3 separate regions of the Homo sapiens genome follow, and regions 1 and 2 are each linked to region 3. The links are contacts of gene promoters, found by promoter capture Hi-C in human tissues and cell types (Jung and others, 2019). All regions are on one chromosome and are shown on one strand. Each heading gives the region's core, a stretch centred on a gene start or on the middle of the fragment in contact. The rest is flanking DNA. Distances are from core to core; before and after follow the strand shown. Region 1 holds the start of MICALL1 (MICAL like 1). Region 2 holds the start of PDXP (pyridoxal phosphatase). Region 3 overlaps EIF3D (eukaryotic translation initiation factor 3 subunit D).

Evidence for each region. Contacts are between HindIII fragments. The study calls those that stand out against the background at their distance.
Region 1: a contact is called between the fragment with the promoter of MICALL1 here and a fragment that was not itself captured in region 3, in 1 of the 25 tissues and cell types used here (dorsolateral prefrontal cortex).
Region 2: a contact is called between the fragment with the promoter of PDXP here and a fragment that was not itself captured in region 3, in 1 of the 25 tissues and cell types used here (dorsolateral prefrontal cortex).

The regions. Positions count from the first base shown.
Region 1 is chr22:37,904,818-37,909,049 of GRCh38, reverse strand. MICALL1 (MICAL like 1) reads right to left here and starts at 2,753. Exons shown (of 16, transcript NM_033386.4): 1 at 2,482-2,753. The coding sequence starts at 2,627. RefSeq lists enhancers at 801-1,614, 1,615-2,430, 2,431-3,246, 3,247-4,062 and silencers at 2,201-2,310, 2,421-3,140. The HindIII fragment of the contact is 31,369 bases long and covers 1-4,232 here.
Region 2 is chr22:37,656,234-37,660,725 of GRCh38, reverse strand. PDXP (pyridoxal phosphatase) reads right to left here and starts at 2,003. Exons shown (of 2, transcript NM_020315.5): 1 at 1,370-2,003. The coding sequence starts at 1,943. PDXP-DT (PDXP divergent transcript) reads left to right here and starts at 2,349. Exons shown (of 6, transcript NR_109952.1): 1 at 2,349-2,471. RefSeq lists enhancers at 1-288, 289-800, 1,627-2,128, 2,317-2,366, 2,377-2,446 and silencers at 1,507-1,616, 1,817-2,126. The HindIII fragment of the contact is 18,911 bases long and covers 1-4,492 here.
Region 3 is chr22:36,514,255-36,518,644 of GRCh38, reverse strand. EIF3D (eukaryotic translation initiation factor 3 subunit D) reads left to right here. Exons shown (of 15, transcript NM_003753.4): 10 at 1,214-1,344; 11 at 1,855-1,940; 12 at 2,038-2,167. Among named protein-coding and RNA genes, the nearest start is that of FOXRED2, 9.4 kb to the right of the region's middle. The HindIII fragment of the contact is 3,595 bases long and covers 523-4,117 here.

The DNA of each region.
Region 1 (4,232 bases), core at 1,504-4,003, 1.4 Mb before region 3:
AACCCTGCATGGTTCCCTGAGGCCCCTATCCATGCTCCTTAGCCAGCAAAAGCAGCTGTCAGCCATCTGTCCCAACTGCATCTCCCAACTCGCTACCTTGTGCTCCCCACTCAGCTACACAGCCTCCAGCTTTGCACACACCTCCCGCCCCTTGCCTTTGCTCAGATGGGGTCCCATGCCAGAACGTCCACCCAGCAGCCCTCACCTGGCTCCTGCCATCTCCTTGAAGACTATATTCTCCCTAGGAGGTCTCCCACCCCCAGCCCTCTGATAGGGTACATGGAATTGCCATCATCGTTTATACACGTTTCCCCTACAGGTGTGGGAGAGCGTGTAGGGTTGCCTGTTTTGTCGATTGGTACTTCCATTACCAGGTACAGTGTCCAGCACAGAGCAATATGACTCTACAAATACTGGTTGAATAAATGAAGAAATCAAACATTGTTATTGGGCCAGGCATGGTGGCTCATGCCTGTAATCCCAGCATTTTGGGAGGCTGAGGTAGGCAGATTACTTGAGCTCAAGAGTTCAAGACCAGCCTGGGCAACATGGTGAAAACCCATCTCTACAAATACAAACAAATTAGACAGGCGTGGTGGCGTGTGCCTGTGGTCCCAGCTACTAGGGAGGTTGAGGTGGGAGGATTGCTTGAGCCCGGGAGGTGGGGGCTGCAGTGAGCCATGACTGTGCCACTGCACTCCAGCCTGGGTGACAGAGTGAGACCCCATCTCAAAAAAATAAAAAACATTAAAAAAAAAAAAAGTAACATTAGTTACTCACAGTAACTAATGTTAAATGAATGCTTGTTATCTCATGCAATCCTCACATTTCTGTGAGCTGTGTCACATTATCAATCCCACCTCACAGATGAGGACACTGATGCCTGGAGAGAGCCCATGAGGACCCAAGGCCATGCGCCTAAGACATGGAGAAGCTAAACACAAACCAGGCGGCCTTTATTTACTTTGATGCCACCAGGCTCAGGCCCACCAAATGGCTTCACTTCACACCCAAGTCCCCTCCCACACTGGGTTTGTCCCTGCTTCCTGCCTCACTCCTGCCCCTCAAACAAAACAGAAGACCCCTTGGGCCCTCCCTTCCAATGCCCAGGTCTAACCCTGGTGCCCTTTTCCTCCATCCTTCTACCCCCTGCTCCTGGGCAACCAGGCATCAACCTTGTGCTTCCATTAGTATGGGTGTCACATGCCCCACAGCGGGCAGGGGCCCACCTACATGACCACCTCATCTTGTTCCCTTCTGTATCCACAGCCCCAAAACCCTCTCCTCCAGGGCCCAAGCCACCACCCACAGACACGGTACTGCAGGGTACATACAGGTAAACCAGGTGCACCTGCATCATGGAATCCTGAGGCAATCCCTTAGAAGCCTTCCCACATGCTGCCCTCGGACAGTGCAAATCTGGAGGTGGAACAGGCACAGAAAGCCTCCATCTGCCAGGCTGGGGGAGCCCTGGCAAGAGGGCTGCATGCGAAAGGGGTAGGGACCAGAACTCTCCTCCCTGATTCACAGGTGAGACCTGAAGTGCAAGGAATGGCACCAGATAAACTCACCCAGTGTTTTAGGAATGAAGGGACGAAAGGAGGAGAGGTTCCAGGGCTCAAGGCAGAGAGAGCAAAGACAGAGGCTCCAAGTCAACTGTTCCGGGGAGTCTGAATGCATTTTCCCATGAGAACCTCATTGGGCAGCTCTGGGCAGGAAGGGGCCATTTCACAACCTGCAGCACCCGGTTGGTGTCTATCAATCGGATCCTAGGAGTCTTCCCAACATTGCCGGCCTGTGACTCCTCTTGCGCGCCCCACCTGCGTGCCCCACTGAGGAGGGCTGCAGGGCCATCGAGCACACACCCGGGAGGCAGGGCTGCGTCCTAAGTTGGGGGGCGTGGGGAAAGCACAGGGTCTGTACATCCATTCATCCAACACCTGTTAGCCGAGGTCTCCTCTGTGCCGGGAACTGTGCTACTGTCCGGAGACAAGCTCCTATTTGGGGGTCAGAGAAGTGGGGGTTCACCTGCACACCCGGAGCAAGGGGCCACCCCGAGTGGGAAGCCTCGGGGGAGAGGGGAGGCCCGGCGAGCCCGTGGAGAAGAGTTTAGGGTAGGAGAGGCCCAGGGCCCCCAAAGAGGGCTCAACACCCCTTCAAAGAGGTCAAGGGCTTAGGGGTTCAGCGATCCTCGGCGGAAATCAGCGCTTTGTGGGCGGGGCCAGTGTCCCCGCGGAGGGACCAGCCTCGGGGGAGAGTTCGGGATCCCACGGGCGGGGTCAGGGCGGCCGGGCGGGGGAGGGGCGCCCTGGGCCGGGGTCTCAGGGACCCGCCCGGCGTCCGGGGCCGTCGGGGGGGTCGGCGTCTCCGTGTCCGGGGGCGGCGCCTGTCACCGCCCGGGCTTCGTGTTACTGAGGGGGGGCGGCGGTCGCGGCCCCAGCCCGCCCCGCGCCGCCCGCTCGCCCGGGGCCCCGCACTCACAGCAGGTCGGGCCGGTGCCGGTGCAGGATGGCGCAGAAGGCCAGGCCGTCCCGGAAGGAGCTGCTCAGGTCGCGGATCTCCACGCCGCGGTAGCCCTCGCACTGGCGGCGGCACCAGGCCAGCAGCGCGCCCCGCGGCCCAGCCATGACCCCGCGGCCCGCCCGGCTCCGGCTCTGGCTTCGGGGCCCCGGCTTGGCCGGGACGGCGGCCGCCGCGCGGGCCCGGTTTCCGGCTGCGGCTGCGGCTCCGAGCTCGGGCGCCGACCGGCAGGCGAGGGGAGGGGCGGAGGCGGGGCCGCGGTGTCCTCGCTCGGGCGCCCCGCGGCCCTGCCCTAACCTGCCCGAGCAGCGCCGCCGCGTGGCCCGGCCCGGCCGGCCGCCGCCTACTCCGCGCTGCCCGCTCGCCTCATTGTGGGCCGGTCGTGGGAGCGGGCGTCCCGCCGCCTCCGTCCGCGCCGGAGGCGCGCCCCACCCAGCAGCAGCTCCGCCTCCAGTGCGGAGCCCACCCCTACCAAGACGGGCCGGCGCCCCATCGCCCGCCCCTCGACGGCGCCGGGCTCCCGCTGCTCCACTGGGTGCCCGCGAAGCCCCCGCACCCGCCGCAAGCGGACCACTCCCCACGATGACTTCACCGCCGCGGCCGCCGCCGCGCCACCCACCGGGAGCCCTCCACCCTTTGGAGGCGGGACACCTCGTGCTCCCATCCGGCCTCCTTCCCGCTCCTAATGACCGCAAATCCCCCCTTCCACCCCTAGCTTGAAACTTTGGGGAGGCAGTTCCCCTGCAGACCTCAGAGCACCCCCCCCCGGATAGCCACCAGCTTCCCTCATCCCGGCTCCCCACCCTAAAGCACCGCTGAGCTGGAAGTTGTCATGTCCACCATCCCCTCCCCCATAGCTTGGCAGGGAGACCCATGCGCCCCTCCGCCACCTTTGGTCCAGGTGTCCCCTAGGTGATTCACTGAGCTCCCCTCAGCCCCTGTGTAAGCTCAGGGATCTCGTCCCTCCCCACTGCGGCCTGCCGGGTCCCCTCAGCCATGGTTAGTGTGGTGGTGGTTTGAGTTCCTATGGGAAGGACCTAGGCCAAGGAGGCCCCTGCCTGGGAGGCATACAGGCAGTTTGTATCTGGCCCTGGAACCTCCCCAAGGCTCATTCTCTATCTTTGCCGTCTTCAAAACCCCCGCCAGCCAACCGACCCTTCCAGCCAGCCAACCCTTCCAGCCAGCCGACCCTTCCGCAGAGGCCCCTCCTGACTCTCCCACAGATGAATCAGCCTCCATCTGCTGCAGAGGTGGTGATGTCACCCTGACCCATGCAATAGTTAGCTGGAGTGGGTATTTCGCTCCCTCCCAAGGGAAGGAACAGGGTCTTAGTCATCTTCATCACCCCTGAGCACTCAGGGGAGTGGAAAGATCAGGCATTTTGGAGCCCTATTAACCCAATCTCCAATCCTGGCTTTCCCCACTCCCTTAGTCATGTGATCTTGTGCCTCCCTGGACCTCAGTTTCCACGACTTAAAAATGGAGATAATACCTGCTTTACAAGGTGGCTGAGAGGATTAAGATGTAAAGTGCCTTACCCTTTAGTTATCACTCATAAATTCTATTGACTCCTGGTACTTGGTAAACATGATGAAATGGACTGAAATATTTTGTACCCAGATTGTCATCTGGGCCATTCTGGGTAAATTATCAAGGAGAGAGGCCGACTTAGGGAATTCTACCTCTTCAAAGTCCACTGAGTCCCAGTCCAG
Region 2 (4,492 bases), core at 754-3,253, 1.1 Mb before region 3:
ACCCCCAGGATTTAATATCAATGACTGTCCGGGTCAGTGGCCAACAGAGACGGAGTGACAGAGATCTGTCCACGGCCCCAGTATACTGACTGGGCTATTAACCTGTCCACACACACTGACCACTGCCAATTAGCCTCTGCTGCCACCTGCTCTTGTCTAACGCAAACCCTCCACAATGGAGGAGCCTCCTTTTGCTTCTGCCTCCCCTGCAGGGCTGAACTCGCAAGATGACAGCAGTGAAGACTGCCCTGGAGGTCGGTGTCACAAAGGCCAAATTCAGGTTCCCGCGCTCTATCACTCTGCCAGAGAGTTGCTGGCAGAATTCTGCCCCACCCATCATTGGGGTGCGGTTGGAGGGTTGGAGGGGAAGCCTGCGAGGACTGTCCCTACTTGTGAGGGCTGAAACACCAATTCCCAGAGGCAGGATGGAGGCAGGTGTGTGGGGACACAGGAGGTGGAGGGGCTCACTATATCTGTTCTTGGGCAGCTCACTTCCCTTCTCTTAGTCTCAGTTTCTTTCCTCTTCTTTTAGAGATAAGGTCTCACTATGTTGCCCATGCTGAAGTACAGTGGCTTTTCACAGATGCAATGATAGCACGCTACAGCCTTGACCTCCTAGGCTCAAGCAATCCTCCCGCCTCAGCCTCTCGAGTAGCTGGGACTACAGGCTGTTGCCACTGCATCCGGCTGCCTCAGTCTCTTTACTTGAGAAATGGGACAATAACTTCCATCTCCAGAGTAATTTGGAAACCAAAGAAGAACACACACAAAGCTGTTTCATTAAGTTCTCTGTAACATGGGGGACTCTGGCTACAACTTACATCATCTGAACACCTACTATGTGCCAGGCACTCACCCTGATCACCGTCACCGGGCATGCTGAGCACTGCCATTTCTCACCCAGGCAGAGATGCTTGGAGGTTATGTAACTGAACACGATTACACAGCTGTGAAGCTGGAGCTGGACCTGGAACTGAGGTCAAACTCCACCGCCTTTGCTCCCCACACACCTGCCTACACCCTGCCTCTGGGAATGGTGTTTCAACCCTCACACAGGGGGACAATCCTCCCAGGCTTCCTCTCCAACCCCACCCCGATGGTGGGTAGGGCAGAATTCCGCCCAACTCCCTAAGTTACAAAGGGCCTCAGTTTCCTCATCTGTCCAACAGGGACCACACTGCTGCGCCTCACAGGATGACGGCTACAGGGATCAACCGCCCCCCACACCAAAGCACCCTGGGCCTCCCTCGCACTCTCCTGTTCCCCACCTGCCACCTGGAGACGCCTCTTCCCCGCCCCTCACCCTTAGGCGTGGAGGCGAATGCGCAGGTCGCCCCCATCTCAGTTTCCCCGCCATTCCCGCGCTCACCAGGGGTCCGGCTGCCGTCGCTCAGCGGGTGCCATGGGTCACGGTCGGTGGCCACGAGTAGGCACTCGGGGTCGCGCAGGTGCGCGCACGCCTCCCTCAGCTTGGCGAAGGAGAAGTGCTCGTCGTAGCCCACAAGCACGGCGCGCACGCGCGGGGCCGCGCCGTCCCCCGCGCTCGGGTCCCCGGCCAGGCGCAGCCCCGCGGCGCGCAGCTCGGCGCGCAGCCCCTCGCCGCCCAGCACGAACACGGCGCCCGGCGCGTCCGGAGGCCCGGGCAGGCGCTGGCGCAGCAGGCGCGCGGCGCACAGCGCGGAGCTGAAGAGCTGCTCGGCGCGCAGCCCCCCGAAGCCGAGGCGCGCGAAGCGCAGGGCCAGCTCGGGCCGCGCGCGCCGGCTGTTGTTGCTCACAAACAGAGCCGCCTTGCCGGCCCGCGCCAGCCGCTCCAGCAGCTCCGGGGCGCCCGGCACGGCGCGCTCGCCGTTCCACAGCACCCCGTCACAGTCGAACAGGACCCCCTGCGCCCGGCCCAGCACGTCGCGCAGGGCCGCTCCGCGCAGCCTCTCGCAGCGCGCCATGCAGCCGGCCGGCCGCCGGCCTCCCGCGCCGCGCTCTCTCCGCGGGCACGGCGCGCTCTCCCTGGCACGTTCCACGCAGCCGCCAATTGGCGCGCTGGAAGGACCGGGGGGCGGGGCGACGGCGTGGCCTGCAGCCAATGGGGGCGAGAGTCTGGGAGAGGAGCGAAGCCGCGAGCTAACGGAACTTGGAGAGAGGGGCGGATTCGTGGCCAACACCGAGGGGAAGGGACCAATGAAGAGCTAGCTTGATCCTTCTCCCCGTCCCTGGTTCTGCTGGACCAGTCGCCGCCGAGTTTCAACGCCGACTACACTCTTACGCGGTGGGAGACTGACGCTCTTCTTAACCAATAAGAATCTACAAACAAAACGCGAAGCGAAAGGCCCCGTGCCCTCCAGCCAATCAGAAGCTTAGGCGAGCTGGTTGCTGGGAGAAAAACAGATGTTAAATGAACTGCCTTTGGGTCGAATCTCATTGCCCCCTGAATCGTGGACGCTCCAGTTCAGAGCGAAGTCCCAAGAAACGTGTGTGTACGATGGGGTACGAGGCACATGGTGTCTTCTTGGGTGCTGGAGCCCTCGGTCTAGACCAGTAGTTCTTCACACTGCGTTAGAGTCCCCTGGGAACTTATTTTCAGATATCATTTACATATAGTAAAATGCATAGATCTTAAATGTACAGTTCAATGTCTTGACAAATGCTTTTGAAATCACCGATGTGTAGCAGGACAGATCCTCATGTAAGTGTTTTGGGTGAAGACTGGGCATTTTTTGGTTTGTTGGTTAGTTGGTTTAATTCCAGGGATTCTACCGTGAGCTAGGATAGGGTAGGGAAGCACTGGGCTAGAGGCTGGTAGGCTGTCACTGCAGCACGCCCCGGGAGGGCAGGATCCAGAATGGTCGTGGCCAATTGCCCAGAATAGTAATGGGGTGACCCAGGTTGGCTGGGTCCCTGTCTTAGGGAGGAGGCCTTGTGATCTGGAAGCAACCACAGGTCTTGGGACCTTTGAGGAGCCACTGGTCTGCAGTGTGGGGATGAATGAATTGTGAGCTGTGGTGTCACAGTTTTGAAGTTGTCTGCCAACTTCAGATAAGGCTGTGACCCCCAGGAGCAACTGGAGCTCCAACGACTTGGGAAAAACTGTACCTTGTACCCAACCTTGGAAGCTCAACTAGCTCCTATTCCCCAAGTGCCCTAAGCCTTTTGCTCCTGGCCTTTGCATAGATAGTCTCCTTGGCCTGAATGTTCCTTTTTCCTTTAAAAATTTCACCTTCAGGGCCGGGCTCGGTGGCTCACGCCTGTAATCCCAGCACTTTGGGAGGCTGAGGTGGGCGGATCACGAGGTCAGGAGATCGAGACCATCCTGGCTACGGTGAAACCCCGTCTCTACTAAAAATACAAAAAAAAAAAAAAAAAAAAAGAAAAAAATTAGCTAGGCGTGGTGGCGGGTGCCTGTAGTCCCAGCTACTCGGGAGGCTGAGGCAGGAGAATTGCTTGAACCCAGGAGGCGGAGCTTGCAGCGACCTGAGATCGTGCCAATGCACTCCAGCCTGGGCAACAGAGCGAGACTCCATCTCAAAAAAAAATAAACAAAAAATAAAAAATAAATAAAATAAATAAAAATAAACAAAATTCACCTTCAGGTCAGCTCCTGAAAGACTTCCCTTAAATATCACCTTCTCCAGGAAGCCGTTCTTAACCACCCACCCCATACCATGAGTCTAGGTTATATGGCCACCCCTAACTTGGCTAATATGGGCTCCCAGTGCAATGACACTTGATTTTTTTTGTTTTTGAGACAGGGTCTTACACCGTCACCCAGGCTGGAGTGCAGTGGCATGATCACTGCTCACTGAAGCCTCCAACTCCTGGGCTCAAGCGATCCTCCTGCCTCAGCCTTCCTAGTTGCTGAGACTACAGGCACACGCCACTACACCCAGTTAATTAAAATTTTTTTTTTTGTAGAGACAGGGTCTCACTATGTTGTCCAGGCTGGTCTAGAACTCCTGGGCTCAAGTGATCCTCCTGCCTCAGGCTCCCAGTGCTGGGATTATAGGCATGAGACACCGTGCCTGGCCAGACACTTGATTCTAATGGTTGCTTCTGCCTGTCTGTTTGGGAACTCTTTGGGTGTAGGGTTAAGTCTTGGAGCTAGCTCAGGGCCTGGCACAGAGCAGATTTAGGGAAGGTTTGAGGACAGATCCATCCCTGCTCCTTGGGGAGGCTTCCCAGCCTCCTCCCGGAAGGAGAGTGAGGGGTCCAGGAAACAGTGGGAGCGGTAGGGGCTTCTGTGGGCCAAGGGTGGTGCTTTGGTTTTCAATGGAGAGCAATACCTCTGTGGAGGGAATTGTTATAAAGTTTCACAAATGAGGAAAAGGGATACCAAGAAGTTAAGTAAATTGCCCAGAATGTGAGGGACAAGCCAGGCTTTGGAGTCAGACCTAGGCTCTAATCCCAGGCCCCTGCCTGACTGCCGTGTGACCTTGGCAGGTCACTTCTGTCTGGGCCTCAGTCTCCTCACTGCTAAGAGGTAATGGTATTTCCTGCAGTA
Region 3 (4,390 bases), core at 1,071-3,570:
CAGCAGTGTCTGAATCTCCCACACTCTTTAGAGGTTAGGAGAAGAGACTGTCACTGCAGTACCTGCTTGAGGCCTCAGCTTTTGGAGTCCTCACAGCACCCTAATAGCAAGCTTCCAAATGTTGCTTTTTTGTTGTTTTTTTTTTTTTTTAATTGAGACAGAGAGTCTCACTCTGTCACCCAGGCTGGAGTGCAGTGGCGCAGTCTTGGCTCACTGCAGCGTCTGCCTCCCACATTCAAGTGATTCTTCTGCCTCAGCCTCCCGAATAGCTGGGATTACAGGCATGTGCCATTACGCCTGGCTACTTTCTATATTTTTAGTAGAGACGGTTTCACCATGTTGGCGAGGCTGGTCTCGAACTCCTGGCCTCAAGTGATCCATCAGCCTTGGCCTCCCAAAGTGCTGCGATTAGAGGTGTGAGCCAACACACCTGGCCCAAATGTTATTCATTTAAATACCCCTTTTTCGACTTTTGCCATCTTGCATACCTTGTTCAGTGTTTGCTTACTGTATATACATATATATTTTTTATACCATACATATATGTATTTATACACCATAAAGGAAAACCATGTCACTCAAAAATTAACAAAACAGGCTGGACACGGTGGCTCACAACCTGTAATCCTGCCACTTTGGGAGGCCGAGGCGGAGAATCACTTGACATCAGGAGATCGAGACCAAGCCTGGCCAACATGGTGAAACCCAGTCTCTACTAAAAATACAAAAATTAGCCAGGTGTGGTGGTGGACACATGTAATCCCAGCTACTTAGGAGGCTGAGGCAGGAGAATCGCTTGAACCCAGGAGGCAGAGGTTGCAGTGAGCCGTGGACACACCACTGCACTCCAACCTGGGTGACAGAGCAAGACTCCATCTCAAAAAAAAAAGTGTTTATATTCTGAGCCTGAAGCCTGAGGTCTTTATTAAAAAGCTTGCAAAATCATTCTCTTGAGGAATCCAAAACGACTGAAAAGGGACAGCTTCGTTACTGTGTGATTGAATTGAATGTTGGACAGTATCTTGAGTTATCCTGGAGCAGCTGCCCCACTCCCCCGCTTATGTGTTCCACACCAGGGAGACCCACTTTAGGAGAGGGCAGTTCTTTGAAGGAAGGACTTGTGTTGTTTGCCTCTCCACATCTCCCCACAGCGCTGCGCACATTGTCAGTGACTCTTTGTTGCATGGTGAGTGACCATGCCACGCTTTTGCAGACCTCCTGACAGTGAGTGAGACTGCCAATGAGCCCCCTCAAGATGAAGGTAATTCCTTCAATTCACCCCGCAACCTGGCCATGGAGGCAACCTACATCAACCACAATTTCTCCCAGCAGTGCTTGAGAATGGTGAGGAAACGAGTCTCTGGGCATTGATTCATTCTTATTTAATCAGCTGCTGTTTGTGGAGCATCTGCTTTGTGCTAGGCTCTTGGTTGTGGGACTGAGCAGGTCAGACGCAGTCCCCACCTTTAGCAGGGGAGTTACATGCCTGGGCTTGGATGTTAGGCTCTCTGACTTTGAACAAAGTTCCTGCCCTTACAGAATTTAATGATAGTGGAGGAGGAAACACAGTGAACAATAAATAATAAATTGATTTACATCAAATGGTGAATATATGCCATGGCAAAAAAATGAAGTAGAGATGAGCATGGTTACTAAGTCATTGTTCTAATTCATCAGGTGCTAACAGTTGGGAGGGGTCAAGTAGGCACAAAACAGGCAGCGAGCTCAGAGCCCCATCAAGGGCCCCAGGAACCTGGCCAGGGCTGCAACTAAGCAGAGGTGCTGGGTCTGACTGATTGGCCTTGGCCTTGTCAACAAAGTTAGCTCTGTCTTGTGACACCTTTGTTTTTGCAGGGGAAGGAAAGATACAACTTCCCCAACCCAAACCCGTTTGTGGAGGACGACATGGATAAGAATGAAATCGCCTCTGTTGCGTACCGGTAGGTCACCTCTCTGGTGGGTATTGTGGCCAGACTGGAGCACGGGCCCCACTCTATAGAATCCCCAGTGACCACATGAGTTTCTTTTTTGCTGCAGTTACCGCAGGTGGAAGCTTGGAGATGATATTGACCTTATTGTCCGTTGTGAGCACGATGGCGTCATGACTGGAGCCAACGGGGAAGTGTCCTTCATCAACATCAAGACACTCAATGAGTGGGATTCCAGGGTGAGCCGCCATCTCCATCACCCTCCTGGTGACACCATGTCTCTATTCCCTACAGTGCCTGTTTACGCAGGCTAGGTTGTATAAACTGTTTCTTATCCCCTTTCGTTACTTATAGAGCTACCTGGATGTTTTTTTTTGTCTTGTGAGTTTTTTCCTCTGCTTAGTTCCTTGCTGAGAAAGAGCATGACTGTGTGTGTAGAACTATGTTAAGTGTTAAGAACTTTTCTGCTTATTTTTTACGCAGGAACCAGTTAACTCCCTTCTTCCAGTACTTTCTTCATCTCTGTTCCATTGTGGCCTCCTGTTGACTTCTGCTCCCTGAGCATCTGATTTTTTCCTCTCCTTATTATCTGGGTTGGCAGTTTTCCTGTAAGTCTGGCCGCTCTTCTTTTTGACCTCTTCTTTCATTGACTGAGCCACTGCCTTCAATCTTTTCACACATTTTTTGCAATTCCTCATTTCTTTAACTCATGGATTCTAAGATCTGGCTCAGAATTGACTCTTCAGAGGCACCTTGAAAGAAACATGCTTCCTTCACTTTTCCTCCTCTATTTCCACCCCACCCCTCCCAATCCGCCCCCCCGCCCACATCACCTGTTGAAAGAGCACACTGGAAGGTTTGCCGCTCTGGGGCCAGCGGCCTTTTCTTGGATTTTTCCTGGTGAGCTCCCCAAAGCATTCAGGGCCGTCGTGCCTGTGTCGTTTTGCCGTCTGTGTTACCGCGTTACTCTGGTCTCACCCGTTTCCCTGTTCCGTTTGCATGTCGTCTTTGCTGGCTCCCCTCCTTTTTGATCCCAGTGGAGTCACCTGGACAGCTCTCTTCGCCATACATACTTCTGTATTATATAACTTTGTATTAGTTTTCTTTCGCACCATAACAAATTAACAGAAACTTAATGACTTAATACCGATTTATGTATTTTACTTTTATTTTTTATTTTATTTTTCTGAAACGGAGTTTCGCTCTTGTTGCCCAGGCTGGAGTGCAACGGTGCGATCTCGGCTCACTGCAACCTCTACCTCCCGGGCTCAAGCGATTCTCCTGCCTCAGCCTCCCGAGTAGCTAGGATTATAGGCATGCACCACCACACCCAGCTAATTTTGTATTTTTAGTAGAGATGGGGTTTCTCCATGTTGGTCAGACTGGTCTTGAAGTCCCGGCCTCAGGTGATCTGCCTGCCTCGGCCTCCCAAAGTGCTGGGATTACAGGCGTGAGCCACAGCACCCGGCCTAACAATACCAATTTATTAGCTCACGGTTTTGTAGGTTAGAAGTCCAGTGCTGTGTGCTTGGTCCTTGTATTAGTCCATTGTCACACTGCTGTAAAGAAATGCCTGAGAGTGGGTGATTTATAAAGAAAAGAGGTTTAATTGGCTCACAGTTCTGCAGGCTCTAGAGGAAGCGTGGCTGAGGAGACCTCAGGAAACTTGCAATGGTGGCAGAAAGCAAAGGAGAAGCAGGCACATCATGGCCAGAGCAGGAGAAAGAGAGGGGGGAGGTTGGTATACACTTTTAAACAACCAGATCTCTTGAATACTCTTACCACAAGAATAGTGCCAAAGGGGGAAGTCTGCCCCCATGATCCAGTCACCTCCCACCATGCTCCTCCTCCAACATTGGAGTTTACAATTTGACATGCAGTTTGGGTGGGGCCACAAATCCAAACAAGGCAGAAATCATGGTGTCAATAGAAATAGAACTGAGTTCTCATCTGGAGGTTCTGAAAGAAAAGCCACTTCCAAGCCCATTCTTATTGTGGGTAAAGTTCATTTCCCTGCAGTTAGATGACTGAGGCCCCCATCCCCCTGCCAGTTGTCAGCTGGGAGCCTCTCTTGGCTCCTAGAGGCCACCTGCATTCCTTGTCACATGGCCCCCTCCATCTCCAAGATAGCAACAGCACATCAGATCCTTCTTGTGCTTCAGATCTCTGACTTCCTCCGTCTCCGACCTCTACACCTAGATTTAAGAGACTCATACGGTTGGGTGAGCCCAGCCAGGTAGTGTATATTAAGGTAAACTGATTTGCGGCCTTACATCTGCAAAATCCCTTTTGACATACAAGGTAGGATGATCATGGGGGTGATACTTGATCCTAGCCATAGGTTCTGCCCGTAGTCAAGGGGAGGAGACTCTGCAAGGGCAAGGGTCACTGGGGGTCATCTTAGAATTCTGCCCATCCCAGGCCTCAACCATGAACTCTTTGAAAATGATTTCTCAAATCTA